4 separate regions of the Homo sapiens genome follow, and regions 1, 3 and 4 are each linked to region 2. The links are contacts of gene promoters, found by promoter capture Hi-C in blood cells and fetal thymus (Javierre and others, 2016). All regions are on one chromosome and are shown on one strand. Each heading gives the region's core, a stretch centred on a gene start or on the middle of the fragment in contact. The rest is flanking DNA. Distances are from core to core; before and after follow the strand shown.

Region 1 (3,084 bases), core at 488-2,987, 280 kb after region 2:
TGCAGGTCTCTATCTTGATGGAACTGACAGATGAGTGGGAAAAACAGTCAGTTAATGAGCATGCAAATAAATATGTGCAAATTATGATCAACGTTGGGAAAGAAGGAAGTTGGGTGCTAAGATAGAACATGATGAGAGTTCCTATGTTACACAGGGTTACACAGGGAATTCTTTCCTGAGGAGGTGACCTCCATGCCTCTTGAAGGAACTGCACTTTAAAATATTTTTGGAAAAGAGTAAACATATCACATCTTTTTCTTTGACCAAAGGTATTCACCTGGAAGTTAAGGGAATGGTGTGAAAGCATACTCTATGGGGAAGCAAACTGGTTTCGAATCTCAGCCTCATTATCTCATTAAATATAACTCACACTCTTCCTATTTACAGACTCTTGGATCCAACCATACTGGTTTGTTCACTGACCCCCAAATGCTCTGAGTCTGCCTCCTCTTAGCGTTTGCTGGCCATGATTTCTTTCCTCTACCTCCCACTCCCCAGTGTTCTCCTCCTTCTCTCCTGTCCTTCTTCAAGTTCAAGTCCTTCCTCCACAGGGAAGCTTTCCCTGATGACCCTGAACCACAGAGATATCCTCCTTCATGACCTCATATTTATCCATCCACACACCAACCCACCCAACCATCAACCCATGCATCCATCCATCCAACTTTCCATCCATCCATCTACCCATCTATGTTAGTCAGTGTTCTCCAAAGAAACAGAACATATATTTTATGTTCTAAGCCTATATAAAAGTATTGAGCCCTTACACAAACATATGAATATCAAGCCCCAAAATCTAGAAACAAGCTGTGAAAATGTTTTGTGATGAGCTGTTTCATATCACAAAATGGGACCTGAGTTTTGATTCAACAGATTCCAAACCCTTTTTTTGTAGAATATAAGAAGTGAGATTTCTGAGCCTATTGAGCCCTTACATATATATATACACACACACCTACGTGTATAAATTATAATAAACATCCTCATAAATCTCTTTATATTACATTATATAATTTAGTATATAATATAATATATATTATATATGAGAGAGAGAGAGAGAGGGAGATTATAAGGAATTGGCTCAGGTGGTTATGGAGGCAGCCAAGTCCCAAGACCTGCAGGGTGAGTTGACAGCCTTGAGAACAAGGAGGAGCAAATAGCTCAGTTTGAGTCTGAGGACAGTAAAAATGGTGATGTCCCAGTTTGAAGGCAGTCAGGCTGAAGAATTCGCTCTTAGCCTTTCTGTTCTATTCAGGCCTTCAACTGAATGGATGAGGCCCACCCACATTAGAGAGCGTAATCTACACAGTCTACCGATTTAAATGTTAATCTCACCCAAAACACCCTCGCAGACACACCCAGGGCAATATTTGACCAAGTATGTGGGCACCCCATGGCCCAGTCAAATTGACACATAAAATTAACCATCACACCATCCATCCATCTAATGTATTTGTATTCAATACTATGTACAAAGTGCTGCTGTGTCACTACACTTACTGTCTTTGTTAATCTGAGTCCTCTACAGGCAGACACCAAGATGGAATTAAATATGCAATATTTTATTAGGGAAAATGCTCATGTAAGAGAAAGTGAGGAGGGATCTGGAAAAGGCAGAGAGAGCCATTGACTGCAATGCAAATCTAATCTTCCAGTGAAGGAGAGAGGGTGGGCAGAAGCATTCTAGACCCCTGTCCAGTCTAAGGGCAGTTTGGTAAAGGTACCTGGAGAGGCTTTGAGCACAATTTGCTGTAAGAGGAGCCCTGCATTTTCCAGGAAAGGGTCTGCCTTAGCACATCAATTTCAGGGAGCAGCTGCTGGGGCCCTTAATCAATGATATTCTCTGAGGTTGGAGGTTTGTGAGGAGCTTTCTCATGGCCACCACGGTCCACTCCTTTGCTACACAGACGTACTTCTCCATGTAGATTTTGGGAGCAACTCTTCCATGATTCCCATGATCCCCTTTGACTGAGGGGACAGTCCTCACCAATGACAAATGAGGATTGCAGTACATACAACTGGCTGCCTCACCCCTCTGGTAGGATACCTCCACCCACCCAGCAGTTATCAGTTGCCAATTAGCCTGCACTCCAGCTGCCCACAGTGGTCTCCTTCTCATGAATGTGCACCATATTGGGCTTATGCTCTTTCCTGGCTCACTGTCCCATTCCCCTCCCTGACTTCCTGGGATCACTTCCTGAATCAATCACTTGTACTCATTCTGTCTTGGGATGTGCTTCTAGGGGAACCCAGACTAATATAATAAGGAAACCGTTAATAATATGGTTCGGAAATAGTTGTTCTTCTCTAAGGATACACTTAGGCTTTAATTTCACGATTCAGTGAGGATCGCTCTTAATACAAAGTATCACACAGAATACTTAATAGGCCATTTGAGAGGCTCCTTAAATTATACAAGTTCTTTTGTATTCACCATCCTCAGTTATTTGGGGAAAACTCTTCAAACTGTTTCTCCTCTGCTCTCACACCACCACCACAACCATCAACACAGAAGAAAGCTGTGACCAAAGGCATGGGGGGTTTTCCCCACACACCAAGCAGCAGACATTGATGCTGGAAGTAGCATCAGATCCCACAGAGTGAGAGCTCAGTCCCCAAAACTGCCCCCACTCTGCCACCTCCAGACCCCAGTCACAAGTCCAGGCCTCCAGAACTTCTGACTGACTGGCTTCAAGTTGAGGTTCTCACGATTCCCTCTTTGGGTTTGATTAATTTGCTGGAGTGGCTCACAGAACCCAGGGAAACATGTTTACTGGTTTATTATAATGAATATTACAAAGGATACAGATGAAGAGATGCATAGGGTAAGGTATGGGGAAAGGGCCACAGAGCTTTCACCCCCCACCAGAGGCCCCCACCCTCCAGGAACCTCCTGAGTTCCACTATCCTGAAGCTTTCCAAACCCTGTCCTCCTGGGTCTTTATGGAGACTGCATTACATAGGCATGATAGACAACCATGTAGAAATGTGATTGGACAAAAAGCACATAATCTAAACCCAGCAAGGCCTGTGTGTTTAGGCTTTTCTTGGCCTCTCTGTGCAGCCTTCCTTCCTCTAGGGTAT
Region 2 (3,531 bases), core at 12-2,511:
TCGGCACCTTCCTGGAGACCTTTCCTCTCTTCCTGCCTGCGGCCAGAACTGAGCGAAAGCAGAGCCCCCGGGCAATGCAGAAATGATTCCACCGAGGAGGGGGCGCGGGAAGACAGGCGGGGGCGGGGGCCACGGAGCACAATGAGGGCCCCTTGGTGTGCGGTTCGAAATTCCTCAAATCCCAGTTGCTGGAATGCGAGGCGACGACGACTTCTTCACTCAGGGCCAAATGTGTTTGTCATTATTCCAGACCGCCCGCCCGCGCCGCCGCTGTCGCCCCCGCGCTAGGGCGTGCAACCCGAGCACACTGCCCGGCAGGCACCCGCTCTCCCTGGCACCTCACTGACCCAACAAACCGCTCCAGAGCGCCCCAAACCCTTGCCCACGCCCGCGCGCCTCTGCTTGTCCCGCAGCCGCCTCACCGCCGCGCCAAATCTGGCCCCGACTCTCTCCCAGAGCAGCGCCGTCCAGTAATCACGCGCATTCGGCCGGCTCCCTGTGCTGTAGGCCAACACCGAGGTCCGGTCTCCAGCCGAGCCCAGCCCGCCTCCTGCGCCCCGCAACCCCTTCGCGCGCCCCCCTCCACGCTCCCCTCCACGCTCCCCTCTCCCCACCTCCCCCTGGTCCCCCAGCCGCGCTCCACACCATGGGCTGCAGCGCTGTCCCGCCAAACCGCAGGCGAGGAATGAAAACACTCATTTAAAACCTGTCGCCTTCCAGGACCCACTGCCAAGAAGAGGGCAAACACCTCTGCCTCCACCCCCAGTTCCTTGGTGTTCGGCCCAGTATTCACGAACACCACCCCCACTCCCAAAAGAAACCTCAAAAATGTAAGCCTAAACAATTTCTTTGGGAGGCCATAGGGTTGTTAGAAAAACATTGTTTTTAAAAATAGGTCTGGAAAATGTGTGTTTAAAAAAAATACCTAGACTTTCTAACTCTATGGTTATCTCCCACCCGTCCCCAAGTGAAGTTTATTCCGAAAAAAAAAAATTACTCTCTGGACACACAACTGGAATCCAGCTCCTTTTTTTTTTTCTTGTCGCCCAAAGTTTGAAGTTACTTCGCTTTCTCCAGTCCCAGAGTCTGATCAGGGACTTCCCTTATAAACAAAAAATCATTTTTTCTTTTCCCTTACCTTCTCCTCCGATGTTATTCCGCAATGAATGTCCCACACATGGAGTAAAGAGCGTGCCCACGGCCTCCAATGATCTCTTGCAGTCTCCTCCTCTGTTTCTCTCCCTGTAGCTCCAACAGTAATGGGCTCAAAAACCGCGTTTTGTAATTGATTCAATGTTATAGTCCATCCTTCTAAAACTAATCATTTGCTCTAAGTAAATAGCTGTCAGGAAATAAGCCCCCCCTCAACCTTGGTCTCTTCAAAATAAAAGTTTCTCTCAAACTCCCTGCGCTCCGAATCTCCCAGTGTCCAGATTGCGCCTTCGCTTTTTGCTCTTACGCAATCAGGGGGTCCAGTCCCAACCCCCAGACTTCGACAACAACTGGGGGGCGGGGAGAAGCAGACCAGATGGGATGGGGGGTGGTGGAAGGGGGAGGTGTTGGTGCTCTGCCGGGAAAGAGGTTTTGTGAAACTACAAACAGCCCATCATTTCCAGAATGAGTTTGCCTCCCCATTTTGGGGTTATTTTCTTAGACTGCTATAGTTTTGTATTCTCTTTGAAAAGAAGAAAAGGAACATACAAAATTGCATTTAATACCCAGAGAGAATATAAATCTAGAATCAAGAAATGTCCCTTCTACAAACTCGGCCCAACGAGAAATAGGGCCCTCGGGAGAAATCTCCAAGCGGTTGCGCCGTTTTGAACTAGGGGTCTTTTAGGGGAAGGGCTATATAGTTGCTAGTTATTTAATAGGATTGGGCAAACTGTTGAGTCCAATATGACAATGATGGGTTTTTGTTTTGTGTGGTGTGTGTGTGTGTACAAGACTGGGTGGTCTGAAATACGGTACAAAGAAAAGAGGGTCTGTGTAGGTTTGGAACGTTCTCCGATAGAACGACCTTTACTCCCTTGAAGTCACTTATCTGGTCGTGCCTTTGTTTTCGGGGTTATCTGGGCGAGGTTGCCCTGGCTTCTATCTCGCATACAAAAAAAGCTCAAGCTTGGGCGTTTGAGGAATCGTACCACCGCCTCCGCGTCGTGGGGGAGGATGCCTTTTGATTCTCCCTCCGTTCCCTCCCGCCGCGTGGGTCGAACCCTACGAATTCCTTGGAATTGACAGCTGAGCCCCAAACCCTGCGCCCAAGGCGAGAGGCCAGTGTCGGGAGGAAACGATCCTGCCGGCGAGGGAAAGGGGGCGCTGATGCTCCAGGAACCAGACCTGGGCAGAGTGGGGCTTCCCAGCGACAGCGGGGGAGGGGAGCGCGTTCACCTTCATCGCTCTCTGATTTTTGAATTCTCCTGTTGGGGTTGGGGGTCATCCTTCATCCTTCTCCCTCAACCCCACCCCAACACACGCACTCTGAAAATGGCCAAAGTGGCCAGGTTGGGACTGGCATGTCCAACAGCCGTCTCCTCCTTCACCAGGAGGGTGGACACAGTGCAGTGGACAGGGGAGAGTCACAGAGAAGTACTCCAACGGGCGCGGTGCTGTGCCTAACCAGGACAGGATCTTGGGATGTCAGCCTCGAAAACAGGGCGCCTGGGGCTGCGCTGGGGGTCCCATTGCCGCAGTTCTTCTACGCGACCCGCTCTCGTGCATCTTCAGCTTGGGTGACTGCACCGCTCGCTATTACTTCCACATGTCCCTTCAGGAAATCATTGAAGGCAAATATATGAACAGCCCCTTGTTCGGAATGCTAACAGGATACCGTAATGTTTGTAGAAAATGAGCGGGAACAAACGATCCCCCCAAAAATCAGAGTGCGGAATAAAAGGCAAAAGCGGGTGCTGGGCCACATGCTGTTAAGTTGAGAACCGGGTTTTTAGGCTAGTTGCCCCAGAGGGTAGGAGGCGAGACAGACAGCCTACCCAGAGGGGCTGCTTTGCTTCGGCGACACTGTTAGTCCGGTCAAGCCAGGGTCTTCCGTCCGCAGGGCCCCAGCGCTCTCCGCCCACAAATGGTAACTTCACAGTTCATTTCAGAGCCGTTTAATGGGGCCCGAGAAGCAGTCCGGGCGGGAGTGTCTCCAGGCAGCGACTCCTCGGGAGTTTAAAGCAGAAAGCAATGGATGAGCAAGCGAGCACCCAGTTGTCCTTCTGGTAGTAATTACCTGCCTAATTTGAATGATGCCTTTGTTATGATCATTAACAAACATTTGCTAAAGGTTTCCATGTGTGACATTCTGGAAGGTTTAAAGGCCTGAGGAGCTGACTCCAGGGATAGTGCCCCGGTGGGGGGTGGCGCAAGAAAGCAAATGGTTGGGGGAAAATTTTGCGGAGAGACTGTGCAAAGAAGAGAGGTCAACATCTGCCTCCTCTGCAAAAGCAAAATAAACCCAGTGGTCAGGAGCAACCTCCGGACAGGAGGCCCTCGAACCGAGGCGGTTGGTTCCTTAAACCGAGTCCTGCC
Region 3 (3,603 bases), core at 392-2,891, 310 kb after region 2:
TAGGAAGTGAGGCAGCAGGACAGGGAAGGGTGAAGGGATGCTGGGTTGGAGACTAGCTTCAGCCTGCTGCAAAGAGGACCTTGGGAGCACAGCTCGCCCTAAGAAGTTGGTGCTACTTTAAGGCAGGGGGCAGGCTTTTGTACTCCAGGACATCAAGTCCATACAGAGGGCCAGCCTTTTGTATCCCAGGTCATCAAGTTGATGCAGGGGGGCAACCTTTTGTACCGTAGGTCATCAGTCATTGACCATGAGCTGCACAGAGTAACCCTTTAGGTGAGGCTGCTCCCTTTGGCTGAGAGTAATTCTCCAAAGAAAGGCTGCAGGTAGAGCCATCAGCAGCCAACCCTCACAGCAGTGTGGGTGGGGACAGAGGTGGGGTGAGTCAGATGCATCTCTGGGCATGTGCATGTAAACTCTGACATTTACCGAGTGCTTATTATTTGCCAGGTACTTATCTAAGTACTTTACCTACACTAACAGATGATGCTCATGCCACCCTATAAAGTAGATATATCCTTCTACTATTAGCTGCATTTTACAGATGAAGAAATGGAGGCACAGAGAGGTTAAGTAACTTGCCAAAGGCCACACAGCAAGTGAAGGGGAGAACCAGGTTGGGAAAAATGATCTCTAAGTAACTTTAGTTAGGAATTTCAGACTGGTGTCATTTATTTAGTCAGTTATCAATTCATTCCACATTTATTGAGAGCCTCTCATGTCCTAGAAATGACAAAGATAAATCAAACATGTCTCCAGCCCTCCAGGAACTCAAACTTTACTGGGAGAAGCACTGTGTGCATTACTTAATACTGGACTGTGTCCTGAGCACTCTGAGAGGGAAGTACAAAAGTGTGCTACTTCTGCCCTGGGGCATTCGGAGAGATGGCTGGGAGAAGATAAGGCTGAAGTTTTGTCTGGAAGGATACGCAGATATTACGGGTTAAAGGATGAGAAGGACATTTCTAGCAGAGGGAACGGTGCATGGCAGGACAAAGACACTGAAAGATGGAGGTGTGGGGCAGGGTGGAGGGAATGAGAGTGCTCAGAGACACGCTGGGATGGCTGCAGGCTGTGAGAGGCTTGTGGGGTTTGGCCAGTGTAGGGAGACCCAGGTCCTCAGCCAGTCCAAGTTCAGTCTCCACCCGCAACAGACTGGCTCAGTGGAGGTGGCAAGGGATGATGGCTGTCTCAGTCCCCAAGCCCCCTTTCAAGTGGAAAAGAATCAGCAGAGCTGCCTGCCTGCCCTCCATTCAGCCTGGCTCCAACCACCTCTGAGCCACAGGCAGACGGGAAAAGTTATCCTGAGCAAGGCCTCCAGGCAGGGAGGGGTTATATTCTGGAGTGTCACAGAGGGACCTCTGCAATTGACTCAATAAGAAAACAGGATTTTAGAATAAAAAAGGAGAGTTTTTTTTTTTGACACTGTCATGTGTCTCTCTCTATCTTTGGTTCGTTTTTAAAAAAACAAGGAGTACAATTCATTGCTCTTATCTTTCTACCCCATCCTGTTGAAATCCAAGTGTGATCCTCTGCAAGTCTAGTGCACACTCCCACCTTTATCAAAACCCACCTTTACGATATCAGTTATCCTGCTGCTAGATACCTGCCGCCGGAGGAGGGAGTGGTCGCCAAACCAGATGAAGTTCCCAGTTCTCTCCCAGGTGACTGTCTGGGTATAGTTGTGATTCAACTGTTAATGATGTAACCAGAGCCCAGGGGAAACATTGCCAAGAACTAGGACACCTTTTGCAAAAGTTTGAAAAGAAAAAAAAAGGGTGAGAGATAAAAGACTACAAATTAGGTGCAGTGTGCACTGCTCGGGTGATGGGTGCACCAAAATCTCACTAATCACCACAAAAAAACTTATCTCTGTAACCAAATACCACCTGTTCCCCAAAAACCTATGGAAATAAAAATTTAAAAAAAGATTTCTTGTAATAGTTTGTCTCCTTAGGATAAATATCTTAGAAGTATGCCACCATGCCCAGCTAATTTTTGTATTTTTAGTAGAGACAGGGTTTCACCATGTTGGCCAGGATGGTCTCTATCTCTTGACCTTGTGATCCACCTGCCTCGGCCTCCCTAAGTGTTGGGATTACAGGCGTGAGCCATCACGCCCAGCCTAAACTTTTCTTTATTTTAGTGTGTGTGTTTTCTTTTTGAGACAGAGTCCCACTTTGTCGCCCAGGCTGGAGTGCACTGGCACTATCTTGACTCACTGCAACCTCCATCTCCCAGGTTCAAGCGATTCTCCTTCTTCAGCCTCCCAAGTAGCTGGGATTACAGGCATGCACCACCATGCCTGGCTAATATTTGTATTTTCAGTAGAGACAGGGTTTCACCATGTTGGCCAGGCTGGTCACGAACTCCTGACCTCAAGTAACCCACCCATCTTGGCCTCCCAAAGTGCTGGGATTACAGGTGTGAGCCACCACGCCCAGCCTATTTTAGTGTTTTAGCAAAATCTTTTGAACACGATCAAATAAACTACCCATTGGTACTTAACTGTATTTTCATGAAAACTGAAAAAGTTAGGAGGCTTTACAGGGTTCCAGTGAAGCTGATATGGACGTTGAGCATTTAGAGGTCTCTCAATAAACATTTGTTGATTGGATGAATAAGTAGATACTGTAATGAGTTAGCTGAACCGCCACGTTGGAGAAGGGGAACATGAGTCAAATATCATTGAATTAAACTCTTTTTCTTTTTTTTTTTTTTTTTGGAGACAGATCCTTACTCTGTCACCCAGACTGGAGTGCAATGGCATGCAATTCTCCTGCCTCAGCCTCCAAAGTAGCTGGGATTATAGGCGTGCACCACCATGCCCAGCTAATTTTTGTATTTTTAGTAGAGACAGGGTTTCACCATGTTGGCCAGGCTGATCTCGAACTCCTGACCTCAGGTGATCTGCCCGCCTCAGCCTCCCAAAATGCTGGGATTACAGGTGTGAGTCACTGCACCTGGCCAAACTCTTTTTCTTTAGTGTGACAGTTAGAGATTAAATGTGAAAAAAAGGGATGAGTGAAAGGGACAAATTAGGCAAACTCTTTGATTTGAGGCCTGAGAAACAACTTTGAGTCATGGTGACTTGTACTGAGAAAACAGACTTGAGTAAGAACGGATTTGGGGCACAGAAATCAAGAGTTCTGTTTTCAGGGTTTCTCAGTCTAAGCTCTATTGACATTTTGGGCCAGATAATTCTTTCGGGGACTGTCCTGTGCACTGCAGGATGTGCAGCAGCTTCCCTGGCCTCTACCCACTAGATGCCTGTAGCACACCTCCCCACCACCCGCAGGTGGCTTCAAACGTATCTCCAGATATGGCTGAATGTCCTTGGTGGGGCCAAACTCCCCAGGTTGACAACCATGGGATTAAGGTGAAGACCCTGTGAGATCGCCAATGGGAGTGGGAGAATAAGGGTGGGAGTGGGGAAGGGGAGTGTCCAGTATGCAGGAGAGAGGCCTGAGAGAGGCATAAATTGCAGCAGATGAACGTTATAGTCGATATCAAGAACTTTCTGGCAAATGGTAACATTCTGAAATGCATTGCTTTTGGTCTCAGAAGTTATAGGGACAAGGACCAAGAGCTAGTTGGATACCCTGT
Region 4 (3,265 bases), core at 241-2,740, 330 kb after region 2:
TCTGTGCAGTGGGGTAACACAATGAGCTGTGCATGGAGCCTCTCAGAACGGTGAGTAGCGAACTTCCATCTGACAAAACAGATTTTCTAGTTTGACTTTGAACTTAAGTCAACAAAGATAGAAAAAGTGTGGAAAGTGTAGTCATTTAAAAAGAAGGTCCTGGTGACTATTTTGCTAACTGCAGAAGGCTCTTTACCAGAGTGTTAGCAGTTTATTTTTCAGAGCATTTCCTCAAGACAATGTGTATGAAAGCATTTTGTAATCAGTGGAGTACTTAAACGGCAATGACTATGCAGATACATTTCCAAACTCCTCAAAGTGAAAATGTGTTAGAACATCAGATAAGAGTGAACAAAAGCACAAAAGAGGCATTGCACATCCCTTATAGGCACACGAGACAGTGTGTTCCATTTTGAGAGATCTTATTAAGGAGATTGAAGAGGCTGGGATAATTTTGAATACGATTTCTACCCAGGCAGAGTCAGATGCAGAATTAAAGAAGATAAAGTAGGAGACTTTAGGAGAAATGTATACAGTTCTCATTACCATATACATCCTCTCTTCCTTTAGTCAGAACAACAGCTCTTTGAAATAAGGAAAAAAATAGTCTTGCTCAGCCAAGAGGAACCTGGAAGCTCCCCTTGGATGTTACTGCCCAGGCAAACCTGATGTTCTGTAGTGTGTTCACTAGGATTCCAGAAGCTGGCCAAGTAAGGATGAAGCATCACTGTTTTAGGGGGAGCCAAACTGTGGTGTCCATGGCTGTTCCCCTATGCATCAGTCATTAAGCTTGCCACCAGCTGCTGACATCTAAAGCTGAAAGGAGGGATGTCACGGTACAATAAAATGTATAAGCCAATAAACCTTTATTTGGTGATTGGTCATGCTCTTCTGTATCCTGCCTGGCCATAGCCTATTTTTATCACCAGACTCAAGGAGGGCCTTCACTCACAGAGCTTGTCCACAATAAAGGCTCATTCGTTCCAGGCATAAGCATTGCCCCTAGAGCAGCCTCTACCTTCTCTTAAATAAGAAGACCAAGGGAAACCCAACAACAATAGCAACAATAATAACAAAACAATTGAGGACTGGACACTCACGAGCAGCACCATTGGCTGGGAGACCTGGTCCAGGATAGGTTGGGTGCTGGTTCCCAGGAAGGTGTACTTTTCACTGGAGTCTCAGTTGCTGGAGAAACAATGCTGAAGGTTCTCTTTGGTGACCATGTTATGTTTTTTTGTCTATGGAAACTCAAGCCCCGTGTGGAGGGAGTGCAGAACTTTGAAAGAGCAGTTCAGTAGACACACTAGCCAGGTCCCAGCTTTTCTATAGAAGGATCCTCATTCCTTGCTCAGAGAGATGCTGCCTTGATCTGAGTCTTTATTACTGAGAGAGGAGAAACTGTGCTGTGATATCAGCTATTGTGGTCAAGTTCATAGAGAACTTCTATCTAATCCTCCAAACCTGCTCTTAAGGTGGGTGTTTCCCTCATGACCCCACAAATCTAACTTTGTGTCATAGAGCTTTGATTTTTGTTCCAGCCCTGACACTTTACAGACATGAGCAATCTTAAGCAAAATGAGTTTCGAGAAGGTTACATAATTTGCTTCTTCCAGGTAAAAGAGACAGCAGGTATAAAGGTCCTGAGGTAGGAATGGAATGGGCATGAATGAATGAGTGAAAGTGCCTTGAAATAATCTCTTCACCAGGTTGTTACGTTTTCTTTATTTATGTCTTCTTAGCAAGGATTTCTCTAATATCCATCATATCTCTATTCCATTCTCCTGATTTCATTTCTTCAGAACACTTATCTCTTTCAGAAATTATCGTATTTGCTTCCTTGTTATTGTCTTGTTAGCTGAAAAGTCAATTCCAAGACAGTAAAGGCCTTGATGGTTTTATTCAACTACAGTATTCTCAGCACCTCAATGCCTGATACAAACAGATACACATCCCAAACACCTTATCTGAAGCCCATCGGGGCCAAGTGTTTTGACAATTCAGAATTTAGGAATCTCAAATGGTGAGTATCACTAAGTTATATAACACCCCCACAGAGTTTGGGGCTGCATCCCATAATCAAACACATTTGCTTTTCTGCTGTGAAACATGCAAAATGTATCAATACAGTAGTGCCCTCTTATCCATGGGGGATCCAGTCCAAGACCACCAGTGGATGCCTGCAAGCTTGGGCAAGACCAAACCCTATGTAAACTCTTTCTTTCTCCCTCTTTCTTTCCTTTCTTTCTTTCTTTTCTTTTTTCTTTCTTTCTTTCTTTCTTTCTTTCTTTCTTTCTCTTTCCTTTCTTTCTTTTCTTTTTTCTTTCTTTCTCTCTTTCTCTCTCTCTCCCCTCCCCTCCCTTCCCCCCCCTCCTTCCCTCCCTCCTTCCTTTCTTCCTTCCTTCCCTCCTTCTGTTTAAGATAGAGTCTCGCTCTGTTACCCAGGTTGGAGTACAGTGGCACTATCGCAACTCATTGTAGCCTCAACCTCCCGGACTCAAGCGATCCTCCTACTTCAGCCTTCTGAGTAGCTGAGACTACAGGTGTGTACTGCCACATCAGGCTAATTTTGTTAATTTTTTGTAGAGACAGGATCTTCATATGTTGCCTAGGCTGGTCTTGAATTTCTGGACTTAAGCAGTCTTCCTGCCTTGGCCTCCCAAAGTGCTGGATTACAGGTGTGACCCACTACACCTGGCCTCATTGTGTTTTTTCTTATATAACCACACTGTATGGGGAAGGCAGCACATACAACATGGATATACTAAACAAAAGGATGATTCATTTCCCAGGTGGAACAGACTGGGACAGCGTGAGATTTCATCACACTTCTCTCAGAATGGCAAGCAATTAAAAACATAAATTTTTTAGTTCTGGATTTTTCCATTTAATATTTTTGGACTGTTGTTGACCATTGGTAACAGAAGCCTCGGAAAAAGAAACTATGGATGAGGGGAGAAGACTGTAGTCACAATTAAGGCAGATCATAAAGACTGGGGACTGCCATGCATCCGTTCCGGTGAGTTCAATGAGCTTGCTGCCAGCTTACAGAAAATCTTTTGGTTTTCAGAGCATTTTGGGAGTTTGGAATTACAAAGGATTGAAGATCTGCAATCAATTAGTTTGTATTGACTGCATAAATTAACAAAACATGCCTTCTATGTGCCCAGGCAGTGTGGTGGGACTGGCTCTACAGCAATGAAATAAATCTGGTATGATCCTTTTCAGCTCAGATCTGCAGAGAAAACAGGCGGTCACACAATGA

What was found. Contacts are between HindIII fragments. The CHiCAGO score rates a contact against its expected background, and 5 or more counts as called.
Region 1: a fragment that was not itself captured here is called in contact with the fragment with the promoter of PDGFRA in region 2 in 1 of 17 cell types (activated CD4 T cells); the score reaches 6.0 in activated CD4 T cells.
Region 3: a contact is called between a fragment that was not itself captured here and the fragment with the promoter of PDGFRA in region 2, in 17 of 17 cell types (naive CD4 T cells, total CD8 T cells, activated CD4 T cells and 14 more). The highest score is 17.5, in naive CD4 T cells.
Region 4: a contact is called between a fragment that was not itself captured here and the fragment with the promoter of PDGFRA in region 2, in 17 of 17 cell types (M2 macrophages, naive CD4 T cells, endothelial precursors and 14 more). The highest score is 17.2, in M2 macrophages.

What each region holds. Positions count from the first base shown.
Region 1 is chr4:53,945,815-53,948,898 of GRCh38, reverse strand. No RefSeq gene overlaps it. Among named protein-coding and RNA genes, the nearest start is that of CHIC2, 120 kb to the left of the region's middle. The HindIII fragment of the contact is 2,358 bases long and covers 559-2,916 here.
Region 2 is chr4:54,227,023-54,230,553 of GRCh38, reverse strand. PDGFRA (platelet derived growth factor receptor alpha) reads right to left here and starts at 1,261. Exons shown (of 23, transcript NM_006206.6): 1 at 1,139-1,261. RefSeq lists an enhancer at 1,963-2,788. The HindIII fragment of the contact is 8,996 bases long and covers 1-2,123 here.
Region 3 is chr4:53,922,174-53,925,776 of GRCh38, reverse strand. No RefSeq gene overlaps it. Among named protein-coding and RNA genes, the nearest start is that of CHIC2, 140 kb to the left of the region's middle. The HindIII fragment of the contact is 7,899 bases long and covers 1-3,603 here.
Region 4 is chr4:53,902,487-53,905,751 of GRCh38, reverse strand. The region is part of intron 1 of LOC124900702 (a long non-coding RNA gene); the gene reads right to left. Among named protein-coding and RNA genes, the nearest start is that of CHIC2, 160 kb to the left of the region's middle. The HindIII fragment of the contact is 1,398 bases long and covers 792-2,189 here.